Regions from separate parts of the Homo sapiens genome. Here all the other regions are linked to region 1. The links are contacts of gene promoters, found by promoter capture Hi-C in blood cells and fetal thymus (Javierre and others, 2016). All regions are on one chromosome and are shown on one strand. The core of a region is centred on a gene start or on the middle of the fragment in contact, and the rest is flanking DNA. Distances in the headings are between cores, read along the strand shown.

Evidence for each region. The method cuts DNA at HindIII sites, captures the fragments that hold promoters and counts their contacts. A CHiCAGO score of 5 or more calls a contact.
Region 2: a contact is called between a fragment that was not itself captured here and the fragment with the promoter of RCVRN in region 1, in 2 of 17 cell types (monocytes and naive B cells). The highest score is 6.1, in monocytes.
Region 3: a fragment that was not itself captured here is called in contact with the fragment with the promoter of RCVRN in region 1 in 5 of 17 cell types (M0 macrophages, naive CD8 T cells, neutrophils and 2 more); the score reaches 7.5 in M0 macrophages.
Region 4: a contact is called between a fragment that was not itself captured here and the fragment with the promoter of RCVRN in region 1, in 4 of 17 cell types (monocytes, M0 macrophages, M2 macrophages and 1 more). The highest score is 8.5, in monocytes.
Region 5: a contact is called between a fragment that was not itself captured here and the fragment with the promoter of RCVRN in region 1, in 3 of 17 cell types (monocytes, neutrophils and M2 macrophages). The highest score is 7.1, in monocytes.
Region 6: a contact is called between a fragment that was not itself captured here and the fragment with the promoter of RCVRN in region 1, in 8 of 17 cell types (neutrophils, monocytes, naive B cells and 5 more). The highest score is 10.0, in neutrophils.
Region 7: a contact is called between a fragment that was not itself captured here and the fragment with the promoter of RCVRN in region 1, in 4 of 17 cell types (monocytes, neutrophils, fetal thymus and 1 more). The highest score is 10.5, in monocytes.

What each region holds. Positions count from the first base shown.
Region 1 is chr17:9,902,896-9,907,089 of GRCh38, forward strand. It overlaps RCVRN (recoverin), which reads right to left and starts at 2,376. Exons shown (of 3, transcript NM_002903.3): 1 at 1,905-2,376. The coding sequence starts at 2,285. The HindIII fragment of the contact is 11,305 bases long and covers 1-4,194 here.
Region 2 is chr17:10,372,345-10,376,230 of GRCh38, forward strand. MYH13 (myosin heavy chain 13) reads right to left here and starts at 662. Exons shown (of 41, transcript NM_003802.3): 1 at 635-662. The HindIII fragment of the contact is 2,348 bases long and covers 1,136-3,483 here.
Region 3 is chr17:10,305,315-10,309,044 of GRCh38, forward strand. MYH13 (myosin heavy chain 13) reads right to left here. Exons shown (of 41, transcript NM_003802.3): 36 at 1,625-1,750; 37 at 1,145-1,315. All of the region lies in intron 1 of LOC107985004 (a long non-coding RNA gene), which reads left to right. Among named protein-coding and RNA genes, the nearest start is that of MYH13, 66 kb to the right of the region's middle. The HindIII fragment of the contact is 3,024 bases long and covers 733-3,730 here.
Region 4 is chr17:10,344,145-10,348,334 of GRCh38, forward strand. MYH13 (myosin heavy chain 13) reads right to left here. Exons shown (of 41, transcript NM_003802.3): 13 at 2,536-2,654; 14 at 1,323-1,472; 15 at 1,058-1,228. Among named protein-coding and RNA genes, the nearest start is that of MYH13, 27 kb to the right of the region's middle. The HindIII fragment of the contact is 3,108 bases long and covers 1-2,804 here.
Region 5 is chr17:10,266,669-10,270,402 of GRCh38, forward strand. No RefSeq gene overlaps it. Among named protein-coding and RNA genes, the nearest start is that of GAS7, 70 kb to the left of the region's middle. The HindIII fragment of the contact is 1,650 bases long and covers 954-2,603 here.
Region 6 is chr17:10,324,417-10,328,107 of GRCh38, forward strand. It overlaps MYH13 (myosin heavy chain 13), which reads right to left. Exons shown (of 41, transcript NM_003802.3): 22 at 3,450-3,691. All of the region lies in intron 4 of LOC107985004 (a long non-coding RNA gene), which reads left to right. Among named protein-coding and RNA genes, the nearest start is that of MYH13, 47 kb to the right of the region's middle. The HindIII fragment of the contact is 3,903 bases long and covers 1-3,691 here.
Region 7 is chr17:10,284,143-10,287,828 of GRCh38, forward strand. No RefSeq gene overlaps it. Among named protein-coding and RNA genes, the nearest start is that of MYH13, 87 kb to the right of the region's middle. The HindIII fragment of the contact is 1,085 bases long and covers 970-2,054 here.

The sequences.
Region 1 (4,194 bases), core at 1,126-3,625:
GGAGAATTGCTCAAACCCAGGAGGGGGAGGTTGCAGTGAGCTGAGATCACGCCACTGCACTCCAGCCTGGGCGACAAGAGCAAAACTCTGTCTGAAGAAAAAAAAAAAGTGTTTTGGAAGAATATGTAATGATATGGAAAGCACTCATGATAAAAGAGTAACTGAAAAATGTATGATAAAAAATCGTATGTGAATATGTCATAGCTTTAACATTATTTAAAATTATATAGGTAAAAGACTGAAAAGGTATATACTGATATACTAAGAAAAGTTTTCCCTGGATGTTGGAATTAGAGGCAATTGTTAGTCTCTTTTGCCTAGGTTTCTAAATTTCATGAGTTACTTTTATATCAGATAAACCATTTTCAAGACACCTACGAGGTTAGTGGAAAAGTAATTATGGTTTTTGCCATTACTTTCACAACAAAGGATCTGACAGGAGGACAGTATGGACAGGGGAGAAGGCGTGTTGGGAACCATATGGAAGCCTGTGCGCCTCACAGGGAAACTGTCAGGAGCCGGGGAGCCACGCCGCGCGTGGGAAGCGGGGGCTCATGCGTGGTGCCATGATCCGCCCCGCGCTGGGGAGAACATGAGGACTAGAACTCAGAGTTCATGCCCCCAACTTTGACCTCTTTCTACTTTATATTAGAAGCATATTGTGTGTTTAGAATGAACAGTGATTCAACTTGAATGTGTACTGCTGAAAATTTCAAAGGACATTTTAATAAAGGAAGGAAGAAACAAAGGATGGAGAGAAAGAAAAAATGTAAATATAGTCACGTGTCGCTCAGAGACAGGAATACATTCCGAGAAACACATCTTAAGGCAACTTCTATGTGGGAACATCATAGAGCATCCTTGCACGAACACAGATGGTAGAGCCGACTACATCCCTGAGCTCCATGGTCCAGCCTTTTGCTCCTAGGCTACAAACCTGTGCAGCACGTGACTGTCCTGAATGTTGCAGGCAGTTGTCACACGATGGTAAGTATTTGTGCATCTAAACATAGCTAAACATAGAAATCATGCAGTAAAAATACAGTATAAAGATAAAAAATGGGCCGGGCACAGTGGCTCATGCCTGTAAATCCCAGCACTTTGGGAGGCTGAGGCTGGCGGATCGCTGGAGGTCGGGAGTTTGAGACCAGCCTGACCAACATGGTGAAACCCCGTCTCTACTAAAAATACAAAAATTAGCTAGGCATAGTGGTGCACACCTGTAATCCCAGCTACTCGGGAGGCTGAGACAGGAGAATTGCTTGAACTCGGGAGGCAGAGGTTGCAGTGAGCCAAGATCGCACTATTGCACTCCAGCTCTGGGCTACAGAGTGAGACTCCATCTCAAAAAAATAAAAAATAAAAAACCAAGATACAAAATGGTAGACCTGTCTAGGGCACTCACCATGAGTGGAGCTTGCAGGACTGGGAGTTGCTCTGGGTGAGTCAGTGAGTGAGTAGTGAGTGAATGTGAAGAACTAGGACATTACCGTACACAACTACAGACTTTACGGATACACTTAGGCTACACTAAATGCATTTGAAAAATAAAGTAACTGTGCTATGACGTCACTAGGCAGTAGGAATTTTTCAGCTCCATTACAATCTTATGGGACCACAGTGGTCTATATCGTCCGTTGTTGACCCAAACATCGTGAAGCCAAGCATAACATGGCTGTATTAGGAAACACTCAGATTCTGCTCCGGGAAGACAACGAAGCTGTGGGCAAGTGCCCACCCCTCTATCAATATCAGCATCTCGGAGCACCACGCTCTCAGAGCCAGTGGCCCGCATCCCCCGCTCCACCCACAGATCCACTCCCTCTGCAGCAGCTGCAGCAGGGGACCCCCAGCCCGGAGCGACCCCGGCACCGCCCAGCCAGAAGGGGAGAGGGGAGACTGACCATGACGATCTCCAGCACTTCATTCTTGCTGATGGTCCCGTTACCGTCCACGTCGTAGAGGGAGAAGGCCCACTCCAGCTTCTGGTTGGTCTTGCCCGCGGTGGTCATGTGCAGGGCGATGACGTACTCCTTGAAGTCCAGGGTGCCGTCGAGGTTGGAATCGAAGCTGCGGAACACATGCTGGGCGTAGGCCTTGGGGTCGGTGTCGGGGAAGAACTTGGCGTAGATGCTCTGGAACTGCTGCTGGGTGATGCGGCCGGTGGGACAGTCCTTCAGGAAGGACTGGTACCAGGAGCACAGCTCCTCCTCCGAGAACTTGGTGTTCAGCTGCAGCTCCTCCAGGATCTCCTTGGACAGGGCCCCACTTTTGCTGTTCCCCATGAGTGAGGAAGAGTGGGCAGCGGCTGGGGAGTCGCTGGGTGGGTGGGACGTGCGTGGTCCCCTGGCCGCAGGCTGGGCTCAAGGCTGGTGTGAGCTGAAGACCGAGATGCTGGTGGCTTAGGAGGATTTGCGACCAGTTCTTCGCAATCCTTGAAGGGAGGAGGGGCCCAGGAGCTTTGTGGAGGGCGGGAGCGGTGGGGGGGGGTGCTCCCAGAACCCTAGTGAGATTAAAATAAAGAGCCCAGGGCAGGCAGGCAATTCATCTCGGCCTCCCGGGACGATACTAGAACAGGACAGGAGGTTGGAACCCTCAGAGCTGGGGCCTCCGGCACCCCCAGCCCCAGCCCTCTAACAGCAGCCATGTTCCCTGTTTCTCTTCCTCACTAACTCTGAGCATCTCGGGGCGGGGCTGGCATCTCATATCAAGCCCTAGAATGCAATGGTTAGGAGCACAGACTCTGGGGCCAGCATGGGTTCAAGTCCCAGCTTGGCTACTTAACTAGCTGTGTGGCCCCAGGCTTGTTTCTTCACCTCTTTCCACCTGGGACACTCTTCTAAACCTTCACTGCAGTCATGTCTCTGCTTAAATGTCACCTGCTCAGCCAGGCCTATACTGACCCTCTATCTATAATAGCACAACCCCCACCATCATCGGCACGCTGCATGTCCCCTCACCGGAATGAAAGCTCCGTGAAGGATGGGATTTTGTCTGTGTTGTTCCCGGATGCATTTCCATTGCCAGAACCTGATAGGCTTGGGCCCCCAGCAAGTCTTTCTTGAATAAATGGGCATCATAGCATCTACCACACTGTCATTGTGAGGCTGATGTGAGTCAATATGTCTGACACACTTAGAAACTGGCACATGGCTAATGCTAAACACTCGTTTTGTTATTGTCCATCAGTCACAGGGAGTGAAGGTGAACTGCCTGAAGGGACCAGCAGGGGGCAGCCAGGCCTGTGTCACCTCGGGAAGGGGCTGCCAGAGAACGTGGTCACATGGGATGGTGAGATTTTTGGGTTTTTTTAAATTATTCAAGAGAAATCCAAAAATCAGAATTTTTCTTGCAATTTCCACACTTTTCAACTTTGGCAATTAATTCAAAATTTTAATGGTGGCTCACGTCTGTAATCCCAGCACTTTGGGAGACTGAGTGGGGAGATTACAAGGTTAGGAGTTCGAGACCAGCCTGGCCAACATGGTGAAACCCTGTCTCTACTAAAAATACAAAAAATTAGCCGGGCATGGTGGCAGGTGACTGTAATCCCAGCTACTTGGGAGGCTGAGGCTGGAGAATCGCTTGAACCCGGGAGGCAGAGGTTGCAGTGAGCCGAGATTGCACCATTGCACTCCAGCCTGGGTGACAAGTGTGAGACTCCATCTCAAAAAAACAAAACAAAAACAAAAACAAAAACAAAACAAAACATGGTGTGGGCCAAACACAATCTATCTGTGGGTCCATGGCAGGCTGCAGGGTGTCCGTCTGCAGTGGACTTGGAGTGAGCAGGCAAGAAAACGTGTTTGCTGAGTGAATGGATAAATAACTGAGTGGTCAGAGACGGAGCTGTGCAAAGGCAGGCTTCGCGTCTGTGCAGCTCAGCGGGGAGTATCAAGCACGAGGAAGCAACCTAGTGAGGACGCTGCACACCTGGATTCTTGTCACCCAGAAGGAAGGGAGGGTGGGCGTGCACTTTCCTTAGCGGAGCGCAGTGCTCGAGGGGACACACTCAGAACCCCAGCCTTGCCACCGTGGATGGAGAGTTGTCTCTTTTTGCCCTGGGGTGAGAATGATGAAGAATAAACCCCACGGTCTCCAGGCAGGTAAACTGGTTTTTTTTTAGACGGAGTCTCCCTCTGTCACTTAGGCTGGGCACGATCTTGGCTCACTGCAACCTCCGCCTCCTGGTTT
Region 2 (3,886 bases), core at 1,060-3,559, 470 kb after region 1:
GAGTCTATAACAGACAGTTCTCCGTAGAGATGGTGGCCTGAATTCAAAGTATCACAAATCTCTGAGGGATGCTATTGCACTGTCAGACACAGTCCAGTCCCAAGTCCATAAAATATGCCATGTGAGAACAGTCTGCAAACCAGTCAATTCATATCAGACTATGACACTTTGTAAGATGGGTAAGATGCTTGGGATTATTTCCTCCCACAACCATTTTTCAGAAATCCTGACATGGGAAACAAATTAAATAAACATAAAAATTTCAAATAATAGCTTAAGCAATCACAGAAGAGATACCACAAGTTACCAAGTTAATTTGCTAACTGAACAGTATAACATTGACCTAAATAATCAGAGGAGGAATCATGCATTATACTCAGTTTTGTTCTGCAGGTGAATATTTTTTGTCTTATAATTGCTTATATTCTTGTCTTTTCACCCCTTGTAAAAGTTTCTTGAAAGGCAGTTGTCTTGTCTTTCCATCTTGTCTCCAACCTTGCCCTCAACACAAGACCTTGCACTTAGTAGGCCCTCCGTAAAGGCTACTTTATTGTCTTCCCCCCTTGACTGGTAACCTGATCAGGTGCAACTATAGCTACGTGGAGCAAAAAAGTGAGCACTTGTGAGCACTTACCTAGAGATGCTGCGGTCACAGCAATTTCAGGAGTGTGACCCCCCAGCTCTCTTTATACTCCCAAATCTGCCAGCCCAGCACTCTAACTTGGCTATATTTGGGGGAGCACCATTTACTTGTTAGATGTAAATGCGTCGTAGCCCTGATCTCTCACTCTTGTTAAGTTACTTGGATAAATGACCAGTGGAGGCTGCATAATGCCAAGTCAGCTGCATAGGGATTTTGACGTTGGACACAGATCTTTGAGACTTAGAGAGTCCTAGGGGCTGAGTGGAACTGGAGCAGAGTGTGCTAAGAAGGTCACTGAAGGGCAGAACCACAGGATGCTTTGTCAAGCAATGGGTGATCAGTAGTGTGGACAGTAACTACACCTCATTTACCCAGCATTGGTATGGGATGGTGTGCTTCTCATCTCAGAAATCTCTGGAAATTTAAGGTTGACCTTTTAACACATCCAGTCTTATTTATGTATTTGTTTGTTTAAAAATCTACTGGAAGAAAAGCTTTCCAAAATGTATTTTACATTATCCTGCTCTGTGTAACCTACTATCTTGAATAGAATTTAAGTTTTTCTTGATCACTCTGGGGGTCTGGGAGATGATATAATAAAGTCATCAAGGATCTGGTTCTTAGTGGATCATGCCTGCACTAATTGTTCCTGCTGTGAATTTTGGTGTATACTTTTATTTATTATTATTATTATTATCGAAACAGAGTCTTGCTCTCTCCTCTAGGCTGGAGTGCAGTGGCGTGATCTTGGTTCGCTGCAAACTCCATTTCCCAGGTTCAAGCAATTCTCTTGTCTCAGCCTCCCAAGTAGTTGGGATTATAGGCATGTGCTATAATCCCATGTGTTATATATAGGCATGTGCTATAATCGCCCAGCTAATTTTTATATTTTTAGTAGAGACAGGGTTTCACCATGTTGGCCAGGGTGGTTTCGAACTCCTGACCTCAAGTGATCCTCCCGCCTCGGCCTCCCAAAATGCTGGGATTACAAGTGTGAGCCACCACACTTGGCCTTACTTTTTAGATTTTCTGTCTTTGCCTTCATGGCCAGCCTCTCAGGTATAATTTCTTTCTGTGGTAAGTTTGTCTTTACTAGCCTGATTTTGTATTATTGATTGGGAAAGAGATTACAAAATTAAGATCAGGCTAAAGTAAGAGTAAATAAGTTCTGAGTGCAGCTCTAGTGGGTTCTAATGAAAATACGTGGACTTTGTGACAATTATAGTTACTTAGGAGTTTTTTTATTTTTTGCTAAAATATAAGTGATGTTTGACTATGTAGGAACAACTGTATATGTAGAAGTTAGAGCCATTTACTGCAATACAGTGTGATCTGTTTAAATTGTATATAATCAGTGTTTGTTGAATCAAAGTTTCCTTAATCAGTCTCCAGTGGGTAGAATTTCATGTAGGTAGGGCATTTCCAAAAGATAGTTTGCATTAATCAAAGTGAATTTTAGACCAGAGGAGGAGCAGGTAGAGATAGGACTTCCACAAAGTATTTTCTCTTCCTTCCTTCCTTCCTTCCTTCCTTCCTTCCTTCCTTCCTTCCTTCCTTCCCTCCCTCCCTCCCTCCTTCCTTCCTTCCTTCTTTCGTTCCTTTCTTTCTTTCTCTCTCTTTCTTTCTCTTTCTTTCTTTTTTTTTTTTGAGACAGAGTTTTGCTCTTGTTGCCCAGGCTGGATTGCAATGGCGCGACCTCCGCCCACCACAACCTCCGCCTTGTGGGTTCAAGCGATTTTCCTGCCTCAGCCTCCCGAGTAGCTGGGATTACAGGCATGTGCCACCAGGCCCAGCTAATTTTGTATTTTTAATAGAGACGGGGTTTCACCATGTTGGTCAGGCTGGTCTCGAACTCCCGACCTCAGGTGATCCGCCTGCCTTGGCCTCCCAAAGTGCTGGGATTACAGGCATGAGCCTGGCTTCCACAAAGTATTTTCTAAAGTAGATTTGACAGAATGCAGATTGGGAGGGTCGCTTCGAAATAAATGGTCCTGTGGTTAAATGAGCTTAAGAAATGTGTTAAACTCTATTCCCTCCTGTTAGAGATTCATCATAAATATTAGCATATTAAGGGATGTGAGAAGCCCTTCAGTAAAGAAATATGAATACTTTTTTTTTAGACCTGGAACTTCCCTAGGTGATTTGATGTTGGAACACAAACTTATTTATTTCCTGTTCCAGAAAACAAGAGAGGAAAGGCTGAAGGACATAATCCATAGCAAAGTTCTGGCCCAGAAGAAAGCAACCGAGAGTGATCAGCCCTAAGCACAGTTGCTTTTATTTGAGGTGCAGCCTTTTGCATGTAGCAGATGCTCAGTAAATGTTCGTCCTGGTGAATAAATGAATCAAGATGACTCATAGGGGAGTCATCCTGACTCATGTGTTGAAAGGCCTGAAGTGATAAGAAAAGAATGGAATCAGACTCTGAGTTTCATTTAATGGTAATAATTAAGACTTAAGAACTAGGCTGGGTGCAGTGGCTCACACCTGTAATCCCAGCACTTTGGGAGGCCGAGCCGGGTGGATCACTTGAAGTCAGCAGTTTGACATCAGCCTGGCCAACATGGTGAAACCCCATCTCTACTAAAAATACCAATAAAATTAGCCAGGCGTGGTGGTGCACACCTGCATTCCCAGCTACTTGGCAGGCTGAGGCAGGAGACTCGCGTGAACCCAGGAGGTGGAAGTTGCAGTGAGTGAAGATGGCACCGTTGCACTCTAGTCTGGGCAACAGAGAAAGACTCCATCTCACATAAAAAAAAAAAAAGAAAGAAAGAAAGAAAAGAAAAAAGACTTAAGAACTCACCACATGCCAGGCTTTATCCATATTGATTCACTGAAGCTTTATAATAGTCCTGTGAGGTAGGTGCTAATATCATTTCTATTATACAACTACTGAGAGTTTAAGCAATCTGCCCAAGGCCATACAACTAGTCAGCAGCTGAAATGAGTTTCAAGTGCTCTCTGGCTCTAGAGCCTATGCCTGTAACATCTCGTTTTTGGAAATGCATCATGTTTGAGTGCCTACTTGGTATTAGACTCTGTGCTGGGAATGGGGAACAGGGGTATGAGCTAAGATCACTGCCCCAAAGGAGCTGACAATGCAGATGGGAAGAGAAGTGCATAGACATGAAAAGGATAAATCACTTTCCCAGATGAAACTATCCTAAACTGATTGGATTGTGGACAGTGGATTCGACGTATGTACAAGGTATTTGAAAAACCATAAAGTGTGTTGTATAT
Region 3 (3,730 bases), core at 995-3,494, 400 kb after region 1:
GGCCTAAACTCATTGTAGTGGAATAGGACTGGGGATAATTGAAAATAAACATTAAAGAATTTTGGGGGAAGTTCTAACTTCCCTGGTGTTTACTTTTGTTATTCAAAAAGTCTATGGCCTTGTTGTTTTTAGCACCTCCCTAAAAAAAATCCTTTCACATTTAATGGGACCATGTGCCTGGGGAGGATATCCTCGGGTGGTTTGCATAAAGAATGACAGTATTTGGAGGCTTTCCTGCTGGGAAAAGTTGTCTCCTTCTCTTTTCCTCCTCCTCATCCTCCTTTCCTCCCTCTCTTTCATTTCCTGTCTCCCTGGGACAAGAGACATTCGAACAGCCTCCTCCGCAGAGCCCTCCTCCAAAATGTCAACCACTAGTGGAGCCCATTTTAAAATGATTGAAATAAACCACATGGGTCTAAAAGGAAAAGCAAGGGAGACAGGAAACAAAGGGAACAGTCAGCAAAGAAACTGAATAATAACTGCAGGATACGCTCCCAGATAAAGAAAGAGCAGGGATGTCCAGGTGTCGGGGGGTTGAACTTTGCTGGTGCATCAAGCTAAAGGAAGAAGCCCCGATCGCCCTCTTTTGGGGCTGGAGCAAGAGACATACCTGTGCCAGAATTGCAGCCTGCACTGACAGATGAGAAAAGCTGGGGAGGGAAGGAAACCTGAGATTGGGAGAAAACGGAAACTGCAGATTTTATGTAGGATGGGCTGTGTTGATCAAAGTGAAGCTTGGTCCAAAATGTAAATGCATCAAAATGAGTAATTTTATGACTGTAGAGTATATGTTAATAGTTTTTTCCATGTATGTGCGTGCATCTGAATCTGCATAGCAAATGGAATGTGAACATTAACATACATCATTATATTACATTTACTGAGGTGTGAGCATACCAAAATAGATGTGTGTGTGTGTGTGTGTGTGTGTGTGTGTGTGTGTGTGTGTGTGTGTTTTGGGGCATAGGAACAGGTGAAACAGAAAGAGGTGAGAAATGAAGCTCACAGGGAATTTTTCAAGCAGTCCTGAAACTGAATTTGCAATCTATTCATTCAGTGGCCTTTTCCCACCATCTCAGTTTCTGGACTGTGGTTCTGTCCGAGGCTGTCACTTTCAGAGTAACAGTCCTCTCAAAAACTCTACCCGGTTCTCCAGTTTCTGGATCTGCTTCTTCCCGCCCTTCAGCGCCAGTTGTTCAGCCTCATCTAGACGGTGCTGCAGGTCCTTCACCGTCTGCTCCAGGTTCTTCTTCATCCGCTCCAGGTGGGCGCTGGTGTCCTGTTCCTTCTTTAGCTCCTCAGCCATCATGGCAGCCTGGTTAAGTTCACAGGACACATCAGAGGCCCTGTCCGCCCATCCCTACCCAGAGCTTGCAGAAGAGGCGAAGGCTGGGATCATGGTGCTGAGCCTCCCCTGTCTGACTGGGGCCAGTCATTGCTGATTCCCCACAGCCTCCCCTCCCACTTTGCCACTGCTGAGACTGTACCTCATTACATCTGTCTGGGAAGCCACCACTAACCGATTGTTGTCATAAGAGATGAAACATACTTGCCACACCCTGGCTCAGAGGCCCCACTTTCTCAGTTCCAAACCCCATCTCTGAAAAGGAAGAACAGAGCTCACATCCGTGATGGCCTTCTTGGCCTTCTCCTCTGCGTTCCTGGACTCCTGGATCGAGTTCTCCACCTCTGCCTGGCACTGAGCTATGTCAGCCTCCAGTTTTTTCTTGGTATTTATCAGGCTTGTGTTCTACAAGAAGAATTAGATATCAGGGGTGTGGGTTCTATTGGGGCGCTTAAAAAAATTGGGAGAGGGTTGGCTGGGGAGGGAAGTAAATTGTGATCCTGTTCCATTTCTTATTTTTCACATGGGTGACCTGCTGGGTACAGTACTGTACATTCTTTCTTTATTCTTAACTGAACAGAAAGTCCTGAAACAGACCCAAGAATTGTACATGAAAGAATTCAGTAAATGATAAAAGTAGAATTTCAAATATTTGAGGATGGATAGATTATTCAGTAAAAAGTCTTGGAACAAGGAAATGATGATAGACATACTATATGAAATGAAAAATAATTTAAATAATCAAAATATGCCATAAATAGAATTGTAAGGGGTGACGACAAACTGGAAAACATTTGCAATGTACATTACAGAAGAAAATATTCCCTTTCTTAACATACAAATAAGGCAAATCAATTAAAAAAAGGGCAAAAACTACAAATGGGTAAAATACTAGAAGAAATTCAAATGGCCAACAAATGTGATAAAATGTTCCACCTCATTAGCAATAAAAAAAATACTAAAAACTCAGTGAGGTATGTTTCAGCAATAAAATTGGTGAAGATTTTTAAAATAAGAGCTAGAGTATTTGAGAATTTATAGAAGAGAACTCTCACACGTTTCCCCAGTGGAAATAAAAATTGGGACAACCTTGTTAAAGAACAATTTATATTACAAATACTTTTGCTGTTTGGACCTTGAAATTTCATTTTTAGAAATTTATTTACTTCTAGAAATATTAAGATTATAGTAATCATAGAAGTATATGAAAATTTAGTTATGAGGAAGTTCATCAAAATAGTCTTTCTAAAAGTAAAATTTTTATTGAGAACAATCTAAAATAACCACAGAAGACTGATTAAATGAAAGGGCCATAATATACAAGTAGAATAGCCTACTTTTCTGTCATTAAAAATCATATAGAAGACTATTTAAAGATGTCGAAGCTGGGCACAGTGGCTCATGCCTGTAATCCCAGAGCTTTGGGAGGCTGAGGCGGGCGGATCACCTGAAGTCAGGAGATCGAGACAATCCTGGCCAACATGGTGAAACCCCGTCTCTACAAAAATACAAAAATTAGCTGGGTGTGGTGACAAGCACCTGTAATCCCAGCTACTCAGGAGGCTGAGGCAGGAGAATCGCTTGAACCTAGGAGGCAGAGATTGCAGTGAACTGAGATCGCACCACTGCACTCCAGCCTGGCGACAGAAAGAGACTCTGCTCTGTCTCAAAAAAAAAAAAAAAAGATGTCAAAATATGTTCATGATTGTTAAATTCAAAAAAGAGGTTGCAAAAGATTGCTCATACTTTGACTATATATATATGTATTTATTTTTAATTAAAACTTTTTTTTTTTTTTTTTTTTTTGTAGAGACAAGGTTTTGCCATATTGCCCACGCTGGTCTCAGACTCCTGAGATCAAACAATCCCAAATTCCTGGGATTAGAGGCAAAAATATAATATTTATATAATTCACAATGGGCCTAAGAATGAGAGACCCCAGAATGTTAATAATATGCTTGACTTTTTTCTTCCATGTATTTACTTGTTTTTTCTATTTTTTTAAACAAAGGAGTTTTAAAAACTTTTATAAAAATAATTATTTTGTGTTTTTGTTGTTGTTGTTTGTTTGTTTATTTTTTTGGCAGGGTCTCCCTCTGTTGCCCAGGCTGGAGTGCAGTGGCATGATCATAGTTCATTGCAGCTTCAACTCCTGGGCTAAAGCAAACCTCCCACCTTGGCCTCCCAAAGTGCTGGGATTATAGGTGTGGCGCTGAGCCGGGTCAAAAATAATTATTTTGAAATAAAATCTTAATATTCTAAGGTTTCCACTTAAATAGTACTTCCAGGTGCCTTACGTAATAATTAATCCTTCGTTGCTCTGATTTCCCCACAACGTGCAAGATGTTTAATGTTTGGATGAGAGAAAGCTCAGAAATCTGTCAA
Region 4 (4,190 bases), core at 1-2,500, 440 kb after region 1:
GCATACCCATGCTTCATGGTCTGGAGAAGCCAAAAAACCTTCTTTGGTGCTTTCACTCTGGTACCAGGAATGCTGGCATGTACGCTCGGTGAGAGCAAGACTCTTGGTCTGTTTGGGGGATGACCAGAAAGTGCTAGGCATAGAGTATGTGCTTAATTAATATTTGCTGAACAAAAGAATATAGGATAAAATTATGTGTGTATAAACCTAGCATACTTTTTTCAATAGGTGTACAAAAAAGTAAAGTTTCATATATAGCCATAAAGTAATGTGAGTAATATTTTGAACAATAATGTCCCAATTTCTCAGTAGCCACCTTAGGAAGATATACTCATTCCAACATGAGCAGTGCTCAAATATTATGGGAATTCCTTTTTAAAAAGTTAATGTCGGCCGGGCGTGGTGGTTCACGTCTGTAATCCCAGTACTTTGGGAGGCTGAGGTGGGTGGATCACAAGGTCAGGAGTTTGAGACCAGCCTGGCCAACATGGTGAAACCCCGTCTCTACAAAAAAAAGAAAAAAAAAATTATCTGGGCGTGGTGGCGGGCACCTGTAGTCCCAACTATTCAGGAGGTGGAGGCAGGAGGATCGCTTGAACCTGGGAGGTGGAGGTTGCAGTGATCCGAGACTGCACCACTGCACTCCAGCCTGGGTGACAGAGCAAGACTCCGTCTCAAAAAAAAAAAAAAAAAAAAAAGTTAATATCTATTCCTGTTTTCATATTAACATCCCTCCAAGAGCCACACTGCTCCATGGTTCCGCCTCCTTGGGTCTTTGGGTAAGTCAAATAGGTAAGAAATGCCACAGTCCTTACTGGGGTTCCATCACATTCTTGGAGATAACTGAGCCCTTGGATTTTAATGACCCGTAAACCTCTTTAAGTGTCAGAACAGATTTAGGACATTCATTCTCTTTGCAAATAGGCATTCAGTTATCTATCTGAAGGCTTGCAGCCTGGGGGCTAGGGGCCCCAATCTGTGAGCAGAAAAGAATCAGAGCAAGAAGGGGAGGGCCCCCAATAAGGAGGAGCTGTCCCAGGCAGCAGTATCTCTCTACCTTCTCGATGAGCTCGATGCAGGCAGCCAGGTCCATTCCGAAGTCAATGAACTCCCACTCGATGCCTTCCTTCTTGTACTCTTCCTGCTCCAGCACGAACATGTGGTGGTTGAAAAACTGTTGCAGTTTCTCATTGGTGAAGTTGATGCACAGCTGCTCCAGGCTGTTGAACTGGGTGATTCAAATACCAAAGAATTTGAGTGAGCTTGGAAAATACATTGGAGATTCAGCAAAGCAGACAAGAAAGTAGAAGGTCACAACTCACATCAAAGATCTCAAAGCCAGCAATGTCCAAGACCCCGATGAAGTACTGCCTGGGCTGCTTGGTGTCCAGCTGCTGGTTGATGCGGGTGACCATCCACAGGAACATCTTCTCGTAGACGGCTTTGGCCAGAGCACCCACCGAATTGGTCACCTTGAAAAAGGATCACCCACTCAACCCTTGAGTTAGTGTTTCTATGGCTGCATTAAGTTGAAACATATGAAATTGACTCGAAAATCAAAAGCTGTTGGCTAGGCGTGGTGGCTCACACCTGTAATCCCAGCACTTTGGGAGGCCAAGGCGGGCGGATCACGAGGTCAGGAGTTCAAGACCATCCTGGCCAACATGGTGAAACCCCGTCTCTACTAAAAATACAAAAATTAGCCAGGTGTGGTGGCAGGCGCCTGTAGTCCCAGCTATTCGGGAGGCTGAGGCAGGAGAATCACTTGAACTTGGGAGGTGGAGGTTGCAGTGAGCCAAGATCGTGCCACTGCACTCCAGCCTGGTGACATAGCGAGACTCTGTCTCAAAAAAAAAAAAAAAAAAAAAACAAAAGAAAAAAAGAAAATCAAAAGCAGTTGAATATTGGCAATTTCAGATCATTCAATGCAATATTAAATATTTTATGAGGTGTTTGCCCAGCTCATGTTGTTCACCTTTCTTTGAGAACTATCCTATTCACAAAGATATTTTTCTAACAACATGGTTATAGCACATGACTCCAGCCCCTGGCCACACTTAATTAGACCAGAGGTGAACACTTGATCCAGATTGGATTAATTGAGTATCTCTCCTAAGAATTTGGAATAGGGATCAAAAGACACTGGTCTCAGTCTCAGGGTGAGGCTGGAAACACAGAGATATAAACTTGGGAGCTATGGGGTGGCCACGGGCAAGAGAGGTCCAGGAAACTTATCTGCCTAGCAAGGACACAACAGAGGAGAGACTCAACAGCCCATGAATCCCAGAGGAGCTGGAGGGAGGCTGCCTGGCTCCAGAGGGCTCTTCACTTTCTAATTCCAGGTCCTCATGGCGTCCAATGGGCACTTAATGATTTGCATTCCTTCAGTTGCCTCTGAAGCCTAAAAATGAACTTCCTCTTAATGTGAAAGCTGATTTCATGTGCATTTCTGATACCTGCAACTGAAGGAGCTTTAAGATAATGGCTCAAATAGCAAAAGATCTCAATCAACTGGATTCAGAGCATCTCCATTACCTGCTGGACATTTTGCCCTTTAGTGACATATTCATTGCCAACCTTCACCCTTGGACAGCACAGGCCCTTCAGCATTTCTGCAGAATTCAGTCCCATCAGGTATCCGGCTTTGTCAGCCACTGAAGGAAGAGAAAAAAATGGCATCATGCAAAAACAGTAGCTGCTAAAGTGTCCAGTCAGCCCCTGGCTTCTCCCAGAAGTGTTTTCTGTAATTTTCTTAAATGTTTTCATGTTGTCATATCTGTACCAGGTCTGGACTTGTTCACTGAAGCTTTAATCCCATATCCAGGGGCCCATGGTTCTCAGGAACTTCCAATTTGCCTCCTAGATGCAGTTTTAACAATAAGATACTCCGTGGCCAATTTTGACCTACTGATATTTCGATTTCATAAAAGAATGTTGATTACAGGCCAGGCACGGTGGTTCATGCCTGTAATCCCAGCGTTTTGGGAGGCTAAGGCGGGTGGATCACCTGAGGTCAGGAGTTCGAGATCAGCCTGGCCAATATGGCCCTGTCTCTACTAAAAATACAAAAATTAGCCAAGCATTGTGGCAAGCGCCTGTAGTCCCAGCTACTTGGGAGGCTGAGGAAGGAGAATCACTTGAACCTAGGAGGCAGAGGTTGCAGTGAGCCAAGATCGTGCCATTGAACTCCAGCCTGGGTGACAAGAGCAAGACTCCGACTCAAAAAAAAAATTAATTAATTACATAGTTATGTTGGAGTCTGACAATACGTTAAAATGTTATATGAGTAAAGGAGCCACCACTTGGACAGTTGACAATATACATGAGGCACCTTCCTAATTTAAGCAAAGTACCATGCTCATAGTTGAAAGAGAAGTACAAAACTTGACCCTCCCTTCAAATGTTTGGAGATGGTCAAAAGCACTTGACTTTTGGCTGTTTCCTACAGTTCATGGGTTATATATTTTCATATATTTCAGCAGACGTTCATTGACTTTGAGAAGGACCTGGGGGCCTGCATTGAGCTCATCAAAAAGGCAGAGAAATGCTGCTCCCCAGGGACTACTTCTTTTTTTTTTTTTTTTTTTTTTTGGAGACAGAGTTTCTCAATGTTGCCCAGGCTGGAGTGCAGTGGCGCGATCTCAGCTCACTGCAAGCTCCGCCTCCTGGGTTCACGCCATTCTCCTGCCTCACCTCCCGAGTAGCTGGGATTACAGGCACCCACCACCAGGCCCGGCTAATTTTTTTTTATTTTAGTAGAGATGGGGTTTCACCATGTTGGCCAGGATGGTCTTGATCTCCTGACCTTGTGATCTGCCCACCTCCCAAAGTGCTGGGATTACAGGTGTGAGCCACCTTGCCCAGCCCCCAGGGATAACTTCTTGGTTGGGACCCTTGCTTCATTGCTGGGTGGGGAGATGAGTTAATAAAAATCTAGGGCAGTCTATGTTAAGTACTTAATCAGAGGCCAGATGCGTGCTTTACTCTCTCCTCGAATTATCTCCTTTTCTTGCTTTGCCCATTCAGGTAGATGGTACCATTATTCTTCTTCTTGTCATTTAAACTTGAAAGGGGTGATACATCCTTCTCTCTCTTGCCCCTGACATTCCTTTGTTCAGACAGGCACCAAGTCCTGCTTATTTCACTCTCAAAATGCCTGGCCTCTCCACTGCTTCCAGCAGTTATAGTGG
Region 5 (3,734 bases), core at 529-3,028, 360 kb after region 1:
TCACCCCTCAACATAAGAACCTATGAGCTAAGCATTATTATACTCATTTCACTAATGAGGAAATGAGAATTTACCCCGGGTTCTCAGCTCATAAGGCATGGAAAACAGGTGGCATAACATGAGTCAGCCCTTTAACCACAGCACTATATTGGCTCTTCAGGAAAGAGGGATGTTGGGTGAAGCCTCTTTCGCAGTCTTTGTCTGGCAGGCCTTGGGGGGCATGCCAAGTGTTTTAGTATGTTCTCACACTGCTAATGAAGACATACTTAAGACTGGGTAATTTGTAAAGGAAAGAGGTTTGATTAACTCACAGTTCCACATGGCTGGGGAGGCCTCATAATCATGGTGGAAGGCAAGGAGGAGCAAAGTCACATCTTACATGGTGGCAGGCAAGAGAGAGCTTGTGCAGGGGAACTCCCACTTATAAAACCATCAGATCTAGGGGCCGGGTGCAGTGGCTTATGCCTGTAATCCCAGCACTTTAGGAGGCCGAGGCAGGCAGATCATGAGGTCAGGAGATCGAGACCATCCTGGCTAACACGGTGAAACCCTGTCTCTACTAAAAATACAGAAAAAATTAGCCGGGTGTGGTGGTGGGTGCCTGTAGTCCCAGCTGCTCAGGAGACTGAGGCAGGAGAATGGTGTGAACCCAGGAGGTGGAGCTTGCAGTGAGCAGAGATCGTGCCACAGCACTCCAGCCTGGGCTGTCTAAAAAAAAAAAAACCATCAGACCTTGTGAGACTTATTCACTACCATGAGAACAGTATGGGGGAAACTGACTCCAAAATTCAATTATCTCCTGCCGGGTCCCTCCCACAACACATGGGAATTATGGGAGCTAAAATTCACGATGAGATTTGGGCGGGGACACAACCAAACCGTATCACCAAGTGACCACCCAGACACCTACCTCAGGCAACAGAACACTAAGCACTTTGACACCCAAGGTTGGAAGCTTTGAGCATTCTCAACTCCTGGCTCTTCCACATCAGATAAGTTGCAAGTTGTTTTTCCCTCTTCGTGCCCACAGCCACATCTCTGGTCTGGGTTTTATTACTTTATGCCAGTGATCTGCACTGTCTTCTCAGTTCATCTCCTTGCCTCCTGTCTTCTCCTTGAGTATAGCCATGGCCAATGGCTTTGTCTTGTCCCAGGACTGTGTGCCTAATGAGACTGGGTGGCGACGGGAGAGTGGTGTCTCCTGGGTGGATGCATCAGAATTTAGTTGTGCCTGGATGTGTTACTGGAATGACCATTTTACAACCATCCAAGAATAAGCCAATAGTAAGTGTCGTGAAAGGAGCATGCGTATTAGAGGGGTTGATTATGCTGTGCCTGCAGCCTGCCTCCCCATCAACTTCCAGTTAGGTGAGACAATATGCGTTCTTATGGTTTGTGATTGAGTTTCTACTATTTGCAGCAGAGAGCATTGCCACTGCTAGTCATTTAGCTGAAATACAAATCCAATCATTTTCCTCCTCTGTGGTTTTGTATTGTCTTTGGAATCAAGCTCACATTCCTTAATACAGTTCACAAAGCTCCCGATGGGCTCATGGTTTACTGGTCAGGCGTGGTTCTCAGTATCTGCTGTCTACCCTTTTCCCCAAGGAACTTCAGGTCGTCATCAGACAATCCTGCTTCCTTTTCCCCATACACACCTGCATATCTATGTTCTTTCTTTCCTAGAACATTCTTTTCCTCCTTCTCCATCTACTATACTTCTACTCATCTTTCAAGTTTAGCTCAACTGACAATCCTTCCACAAATTTTTTCCTAATCCCTCCAGGCAGAATTAAGGAATCTCTTAAGCGTTTCTGAGCACTTTGTGTCTGTGTTATGGTGCTTTCTGCAGCCTCATACACAATCACAGGCCACCTATGTTTCTGCCTCTTTGCTAAAACATGAGCCCCTTAAAGACAACGACTATGTTCCATCCACCTTCTAGCTTAGTGCCTGTGCCTTGTACCGGACAAAATGATCCTGTAAGTACTAATGAAATGTTCATGAATTCGTTCAGATTGCAGGTAACTTAGCATGTGCTTATTAACTGTTATTTATTTTTATTACAAATAAAGCAGTATTATTGTCAGTAATAATGTCTTTAGGATTTTGCAGTTCATGAAGCTCTTTACTATACGCTATCTCAATTAACACAGTATTTATTTTTAAATACTTATTTATGTATTTATTTACTTTGAGACAGGATCCTGCTCTGTTGCCCATTCTGGAGTGCAGTGGCACCATCACGGCTCACTGCAATCTCTGCCTCCCAGGCTCAAGTGATCCTCCCACCTCAGCCTCCCAGGTAGTTGGGACTACAAGTGCATGCCACCATGCCTGGCTAATTTGTTATTTTTGTACAGATGAGGTCTCACTATATTGCCCAGGCTGGTCTCAAAGTCCTAGGCTCAAGCCATTTGCCCACTTTGGCCTCCTACTGGGATTACAGGCATGAGCCGTCATGCCCAGCCCCACAATATCTCTATAACACCAACGTTGTCCCCACTTCCCAGATGAGGAAACTAGGCACCCAGTTAATGTATGTATATTGGTTGGATGCCTATAATTTGCATAATACTGGGCAAGAAGCCAGCTGTGAAGGAAGCTTGCAAAGAAGTAAAAACCAGAGTCTCCCTTCTCACAGTGTTTACAATTTACTTGCGGAGGTAAGAAATCATGCAGAATATTTCCATTAAAAGAGACAAGAGCACTGGAAAATAACAGTGAAGAGATGTTGAAGACAGCAATTTACTACATAATAAAAGAACACAGGCCGGGCTCGGTGGCTCACGCCTGTAATCCCAGCACTTTGGGAGGCTGAGGTGGGCAGATCACTAGGTCAGAAGATCGAGACTATCCTGGCTAACACGGTGAAACCTCGTCTTTACTAAAAATACAAAAAATTAGCCAGGCGTGGTGGCAGGCGCCTGTAGTCCCAGCTACTCGGGAGGCTGAGGCAAGAGAATGGCGTGAACTTGGGAGGCGGAGCTTGCAGTGAGCCAAGATCACGCCACTGCACTCCAGCCTGGGTAACAGAGCGAGACTCTGTCTCAAAAAAAAAAAGAAAACAATGAAAATAAAAATAAAAGAACACAAAACATAAGTACCATAAGAATTAAGATGGAACACTATGGTCTGACAGTGGAGGTCCATGAAGAGTCTTCCAAAAGAGAGCCCAGCTTGGATTTTAAGGATTAGTGGGATTTCACAAAATGAAGAAGTGGGCAAGGCATTCCATGTGAAAAGTGAAGTCTTAACAGGGTGCAACTCCTTCTCTGCTAAGCAAGGAAGAAGATAGGATAGTGAAAGCCCCAAGGAAATGAATGGATATATTTGTGGCATGGATAGATGGATAGATGGATGGATAAATGGATGGATGAGTAGATGGATGGATAGATGGGTGGAAAGACAGGTGGATAGGAGGATGAGTAGATGCGTGGATGGATGAACAGAGGAGTAAATTCACAGCTTGTAGAGGATGGCGCTCATTTTACCAAAATTGTCTCCAAACACAGCAGCATCATGATGAATTGTATTCTCTTTACAGAACAGCTTGGTTTAACTTGTCCAGATGAAAGAAAGGCATTGTAGAAATCCATAAACACTTGTTGAATTAAAACATTTGAATGTGGTCAGAGCTACAGAGAAATGCCTGGGCTTAGGATGCAATCAGGCCAGTGTGGCCTTTCGACATTATGTGTGGGTGTGTTTTCTCACAAACACATGTGAAGAGA
Region 6 (3,691 bases), core at 626-3,125, 420 kb after region 1:
ACGTGTACATAAACTTAGATATCACCCATAAACACATTTTTTCTTTTTAGATGGAGTTTCTCTCTGTGGCCCAGGCTGGAGTGTAGCGGCATGATCTTTGCTCACTGCAACCTCTGCCTCCCAGGTTCTAGCGATTCCCTGCCTCAGCCTCCCGAGTTGCTGGGATTACAGGCATGTGCTACCATGCCTGGCTAATCTTTGTATTTTTTTGTAGAGATGGGATTTCACCATGTTGGCCAGGCTGGTCTCCAAACGCCTGACCTCAGGTGATCCTTCCGCCTCGGCCTCCCAAAGTGCTGGGATTACAGGCATGAGTCACTGCACCTGGTCCATATACATGTTTTTTTTTTTTTTTTTTTTTTTTAACTAGCAAGAACATTGCTTATAGAAATTTGCATATAATAATTTGTTCATTTATTTCTTTAGAGACAAGGGCTTGCTCTGTTGCCCAAGCTAAAGTGCAGTGGTGTGAGTGTAGCCCACTGCATCCTCACACTCCTGTGCTCAAGTGATCCTCCCACCTCAGCCTCCCAAGTAGCTGGAACTACAAGGTATGTGCCACCATGACTGGCTTCTTTTTTGGTGTGTGTACAGATGGGGCCTCCATGTGTTTCCCAGCTTGTCTCAAACTTTGAGCCTCAAGTGATCCTCCTGCCTCAGCCTCCCAAAGTGCTGGGACTACAAGTGTGAGCCACCATGCCTGGCCTCACTTATAATAATTTCAAACAGAGGAGTTTGTGAAATTACAAGTTCATTTTAAAGAATGAAGCCTCTAGAAATTTGCCACATTTGAACAGCTGGTTATCTCACTCTTCCTGCTACCACCAGTTGGAAAATGACTCATCTACTCTATGTTATCTCAAGCTGACAAAATAGTTTCAAAACATTACTATCTTTTAACTTTCATTAAATTTATTTTTAAATATATGGATTTATTTATTTTCTAGAGATAAGGTATCACTATGTTGCCCAGGCTGGTCTCGAGCTTCTGAGCTCAAGTGATCCTCCTGCCTTGGCTTCTAAAAGTGTTGGGATTATAGGCATGAGCCACCAGGCCTGGTCCTTTCAACAGAAAAGTTCTACCTATGTCTCCTTAGCTGTGTCTCCTCGAACCACAGAACAGAAAATTAAAAACACCCAAGAATTCGTGATTGAATACATATGTCCCAGAAGATGCTGCAGTGAGTCTCTTGGACAGACCAAGATCAGCTACTTCTGTTCTAAATCGGGCTATATCTTCCCATATAAGAATATTTATTTATATATTTGTTTATTTATTGAGACGGAGTCTCACTCTGTTGCCAGGCTGGAGTGCAGTGGCGCGATCTCGGCTCACTGCAACCTCTGCCTCCTGGGTTCAAGTGATTCTCCTGCCTCAGCCTCCTGAGTAGCTGGGACTACAGGTGCCCACCACCATGCCCAGCTAATTTTTGTATTTTTAGAAGAGAGGGGGTTTCACCATGTTGGCCAGGATGGTTTCGATCTCTTGATCTCATGATCCGCCCGCCTCGGCCTCCCAAAGTGCTGGGATTACAGGCGTGAGCCACCACGCCCGGCCCATATAAGAGTATTTTAAGACACACACTGCAGGGTAATGCATGGGAGGAGACTGGCAAGCCTGCATGCTAATGTTTGCTGAACATCTATAAACATGAGCTGTGTGCCAGGCATTTTACAGGCATTAACCACTCTGATTTTTCAATAGCTGGATGAGGTGAGTACTCTGACTATGCCCATTTTACAGACGAGATAACAGAAGCACAAAGAGGATATGTAGCTCATCCAAGGTCACACAGCTATCAGGTGGAGCATCTGGGATAGAAACCCAGTTATCTTGTTCCAAGAGCTGTTCTCTTGTCCGCTGTACCTGGGAAAGTGCTCCTATTAACTCACTATAGTGATTGGGAAAGTGAAAAGGGGAGCGGAAAATGCTCTGTATAAAAACAAAAGGTAAAAGTATTTGGGGATTTATTAAAAAGGGAAAATTATAAATGCCTTCACTCTGTGAAAGAGACAATTATACTGCCCCATTTCTTTTCTTTTTCTTTCTTTCTTTCTTTTTTCTTTTTTTTTGAGACGGAGTCTTGCTCTGTTGCCAGGCTGGAGTGCAGTGGCACGATCTCGGCTCACTGCAACCTCCACCTCCTGGGTTCAAGTGATTCTCCTGCCTCAGCCTCCTGAGTAGCTGGCACTACCAGCGTGTGCCACCACACCTGGCTAATTTTTTTTTTTTTGTATTTTTAGTAGAGACGGAGTTTCACCATGTTAGCCAAGATGGCCTTAATCTCCTGACCTTGTGATCTGCCCGCCTCGGTCTCCCACAGTGCTGGGATTACAGGTGTGAGCCACCGCGTCCAGCCTATACTGCCCCATTTCTTTGATAAAACTATGTATCTTTAAAGCACTTTTTTTTTTTGAGATCGGGGTCTCACTGTGTTGCCCAGGCTGGAGTGCAGTGGCATGTTCTCAGCTCACTGCAACCTCGACTACCTGGGCTCAGGTGATTCTCCCACCTCAGCCTTCTGAGTATCTTGGACTAGAGACATGCACCACCATGCCTACTAGTTTTTTTTTTTTTTTTTTTTTTTTTTTTTTTTTTTTTTGAGACGGAGTCTCGCTCTGTCGCCCAGGCTGGAGTGCAGTGGCGCGATCTCAGCTCACTGCAAGCTCCGCCTCCCAGGTTCACGCCATTCTCCTGCCTCAGCCTCCCAAGTAGCTGGGACTACAGGCGCCCGCCACTACGCCCGGCTAATTTTTTGTATTTTTAGTAGAGACGGGGTTTCACCGTTTTAGCCGGGATGGTCTCGATCTCCTGACCTCGTGATCCTCCCGCCTCGGCCTCCCAAAGTGCTGGGATTACAGGCGTGAGCCACCGCGCCCGGCCGCCTGCTAGTTTTTAAAAATTTTTTTACAGAGATGGGGTTTTGCCATGATACCCAGGCTGGTCTTGAACTCCTGGGCTCAAGCGATCCTCCCACCTCAGCCTCCCAAAGTGTTGGGCTTACAGGCATGAGCTACCACGCCCGGCCTAAAGCACTTTTTACATATTATTGTAAATAATATATAGAAAATTACTCTTGCTACTTTGAATTGGGTTATTTAATTTTGATTATTTTTATTTTTATTGATTTTTAAAAGCTGTGGTGCATATACATATGACACATATATATCCCTCATGCCCACAGCAAAATATATCTAACTCTGCGATGACGGGGAGAAATCAGGGAGAGCACAAATTCTCTTTGCAGACATAATTTCCGGCATTCACTGCTTTGCTAAGCCCGGGACCAGGCATCCTTTTACGAGCAAGGTGGTGCTGCAATACTCCACATGACCACTGGGTGGCACCACTGTCTCTCGAATAGACACCTGATGGCGCCCTCAATGTTCCTCCCCCTTTTCTGTCCTCCAGAGTCTGTGTTTTGCGTTCTCAAGTAGAAGGTACTTACAGACTGGACCTGCAATTGGAGGTCATTCTTCTCCTGCAGGAGGGAGACCATTTTCTCCTCCAGCTCCTTCCGGCGAGCCTCAGATCGGGCCAGTTCTTCCTTGGTCCTCTCAAAGTCTTCCTTCATGGTGGCCATCTCCTTCTCGGCCTCTGCACTCTTCAGCAGGGGCTTGATTTTGAAGAACAGGTTCATCCAGGGCCAGTGCTTGACGTTCATAAAAGAGCGGATGTTGTACTGGATGC
Region 7 (3,686 bases), core at 262-2,761, 380 kb after region 1:
AAGAACCTGATTCATTTTATTTAATTAGAAACAGCATAGTTTTAAAAAATAATTTTCAACCTTTGAAATTATCTGATGCTTGTATATACAAGTACAATTTACTTTTGTATTTTAAGTCAAAAAAATTTTATAGCCAGGCGTGGTAGCTCATATCTGTAATCTCAGCACTTTGGGAGGCCAAGGTAGGAGGATCATATGCGGCCAGGAGTTTGAGATCAGCCTGGGCAACATAGTGAGAGCCCTGTCTCTACAGACAAACAAGCAAACAAAAAAATTAGCTAGCTAGGCTTGGTTGTGTGTGCATGTAGTCCCAGCTACTTGGGTGGCTGATGTGAGAGGATTGCTTGAGCCCAGGAGGTCGAAGCAGCTGTGGGCTGTGGTCATGCCACTGCACTCCAGCCCAGGTGACAGAGCAAGATCCTGTCTCCAAAAAAAGAAAATTTTAAACCAACAAAAATTATAAATAAACCTTTTACTTGGGAATAATTTTAGATTTATGGAAAAATTGCAAATATGGTACAGGGAGTTCCTGTATACCCCAAACACAGCCTTCCCTAATGCTAACATCTTATGTAACCACAGTACATTAGTCAAAAAGTAACAGGTCGACATCAGTACATTACTAACAGGTAAATTCCAGGCTGTATTTGGATTTCACCAGTTTTTCCACTAGTCTTTTTTTCTCTTCCAAGAGCCAATTCAGTATACCTCATTGCATTTAGTGTACTTTGATTTTTGAAAACAGCTACCTTGCGGAACCCTGTTATTAATTCTAATATTTTATATATTGATTCTTTGGAAATTTCTTTGTATACAATCGGCAAATAATAATTTTGTTCTTTCCTTCCCAGTCTTTGTATTTTAAGTGTCTTTTTCCTGCTGTATTGTATTAGGTAGGACTTCTAGTACCTTGATGAATAGAAATAATGATGGTTGGCATTCATATCTTATTCCTGATCTCAAAGGAAAAGCTTTCAACATTTCCTTAATATGATGTTTTTGTAAGACTTTTCTAGAGACTCTTTCTCACATCATGGAAGTTCCCTTTTATTCCCAGTTTAAGAGAAAGCATTTTTAAAAATCATCAATGGCTATGAATTTTATCAAATATATATTTTCTGCATCTATTGAAATGATCACATGAATTTCTGCTTTTATCTGTTTATGTAGTGTATTAACTCGAATAGATTCTCTAATGTTAAATTAAATTTAAAATCCTGGAATAAATCCAACCTTATATCAGGTTATATTATTTTTTTTATATATTGCTGAACTCAGTTTGTTAATATGTTTTTTAGGATTTGTTGCATCGATGTTCTTATGTGAAATTGACCTATAATTTTTGCTTTGATATCAAGATAATACTGGCCTCATAAAATAAGCTGGGGCATGACTTTCTTGTCCGCATTCCTCCTCTGGAAGAGTCTGGGTAAAACTGGAATTATTTCTTCCTTAAACATTTCACTCTCATCAGTGTTTAAAGCCAAGAAATATAGCAATCCCGGCCAGGCACCGTGGCTCATGCCTGTAATCCCAGCACTTTCGGAGGCCGAGGCGGGCAGATCACCTGAGGTCGGGAGTTCGAGACCAACCTGACCAACATGGAGAAACCCCGTCTCTACTAAAAATACAAAATTAGCCGGGTGTGGTGGCGCATGCCTGTAATCCCAGCTACTTAGGAGGCTGAGGCAGGAGAATCGCTTGAACTTGGGAGGCGGAGGTTTTGGTGAACCGAGATCGCACCATTGCACTCCAGCCTGGGCAACAAGAGTGAAACTTTGTCTCAAAAATAAATACATAAATAAAATAAAATTAAATTAAAAAAAAGAAATATAGCAATCCTGACATGAGTGTTTCACAACCATCTTCACTGCACTGTTTTTTTCCAGTGCCGCGAAGCATCTCCTCATGTATTACACTAGTCATTTACAGTAATGAATAGAGCACAGATGACAGCTTCTCCGCGCTGGGCTCTGTAATGCTGGAAGCAATGGGAAACCGCAGATCATTTATACCAGTCTTCCCTTAAGCCTGGTGGATAACTAGTTTTTGTAAGCTTGCAGGATATGCGATGGGGGGATGCCCCCACGTGCTTGTTTTTTTCAGGGGAGGAAGAAGACAGGGGATTATAGAAAGCGAAGGTACAGGGCCCCTAAAACCAGGACAGCAGCTAAATTCACATTCCCTCCAAAGCTATTAGTGGACATATTGGCTGGGAGCAGGATCAGCATAGTAGTGTGGGTGTGTAAGGAGTTCTCCTTGTTCTGTAGTTCTAGGAGTCTCCCTCCATCCCTCTTTTCTCCCTACTGGCTCAGACATGCTCAGCACCTTCAGTGATGGGGAGACCTCTACAGTCATTTGTTCGGGAGAACAGGATGTGACACTTCCCCTGGCATTCTAGGGGAGCTGTCCAGGGCACATTCCAGGAAAGGAAGTGGGAGGTTTCCTTTTCCCTTTTCCTCCACTGAACCCTGGGCATGTTTACTTCACTGGGGACAGGTTGAGGCTATGCTGAGAGAGGAGTAGAAGGAGATAACTCCTGGCCACAATAGACTTCTTCAAGATTTAGCTAAAAGGTTTCCCAAAGTTTGGTCTCTGGACCCCTTTACACTCTTAAAAATTACTGAAGACTCCAAAGAATTTTCATTTATTTGGGTCCTATCTGTTGAAATTTACCATACTAGACAATAAAACTGAGAAATTACAAACATTACTAATTCATTTAAGATAGCAATAATTAATGCATTACCTTAATATAATCTATTTTTATGAAAATGACTATTTCCCAAAACAAAACAAAAAATAGTGAGTTGAAAGTAGTATTGTCTTACATTTTTGCAAATCTTTAAAATTTCTGGCTTACCAGAAGATAGCTGATTCTCAAGTCTGCTTCTGCATTGAATCTTTGAGCCTTTTTTTATGGCTGAGTAGTATTCCATAGTGTATATGTACCACATTTTCTTTATCCAATCCACCATAGATGGGCACGTAGGTTGATTCCATGTCTTTGCTATTGTGAATAGGGCTGCAGTGAACATACAAATGCATGTGTCTTTTTGGTAGAACAACTTATTTTCCTTTGGGTGTATATCTAGTAATGAGATTGCTGGGCTGAATGGTAGTTCTAAGTTCTTTGATAAATCTCCAAACTGCTCTGTATTTTTAGTAAGACAAGGTTTTGCCACGTTGGCCAGGCTAGTCTCAAACTCCTGACCTCAAGTAAACCTCCCACCTCAGCCTCTCAAAGTGCTGGGATTATAGGTGTGAGCCACCGCGCCCTGCCTTGCTGGAGTCTTTAGGGTTTTCTAGGTATAGTATCATATTGTCAGCTAAGGGAGATAATGTGACTTTTCCTTTTCCTATGTAGATGCCTTTTATTTCTTTCTCTTGGCTGATTGCTCTGGCTAGGACTTCCAACTACATTGAATAGGAGTAGTGAGACTGGGCATTCTTGCCTTGTTCTTGTTCTTAAGGGAAATTCTTCCAGCTTTTGCCCATTGAGTATGAAGTTGGCTGTGGGTTTGTCATAGAAGGCTCTTATTATTTTGAGGTATGTTCCTTTCGTGCCTAGTTTGTTGAGGGTTCTTATTATAAAGGGATGTTGGATTTTATCAAAAACTTTTCCTGCATCTATTGAGATAATCATATCATTTTTATTTTTAACTATTTATATGATGAATCACATT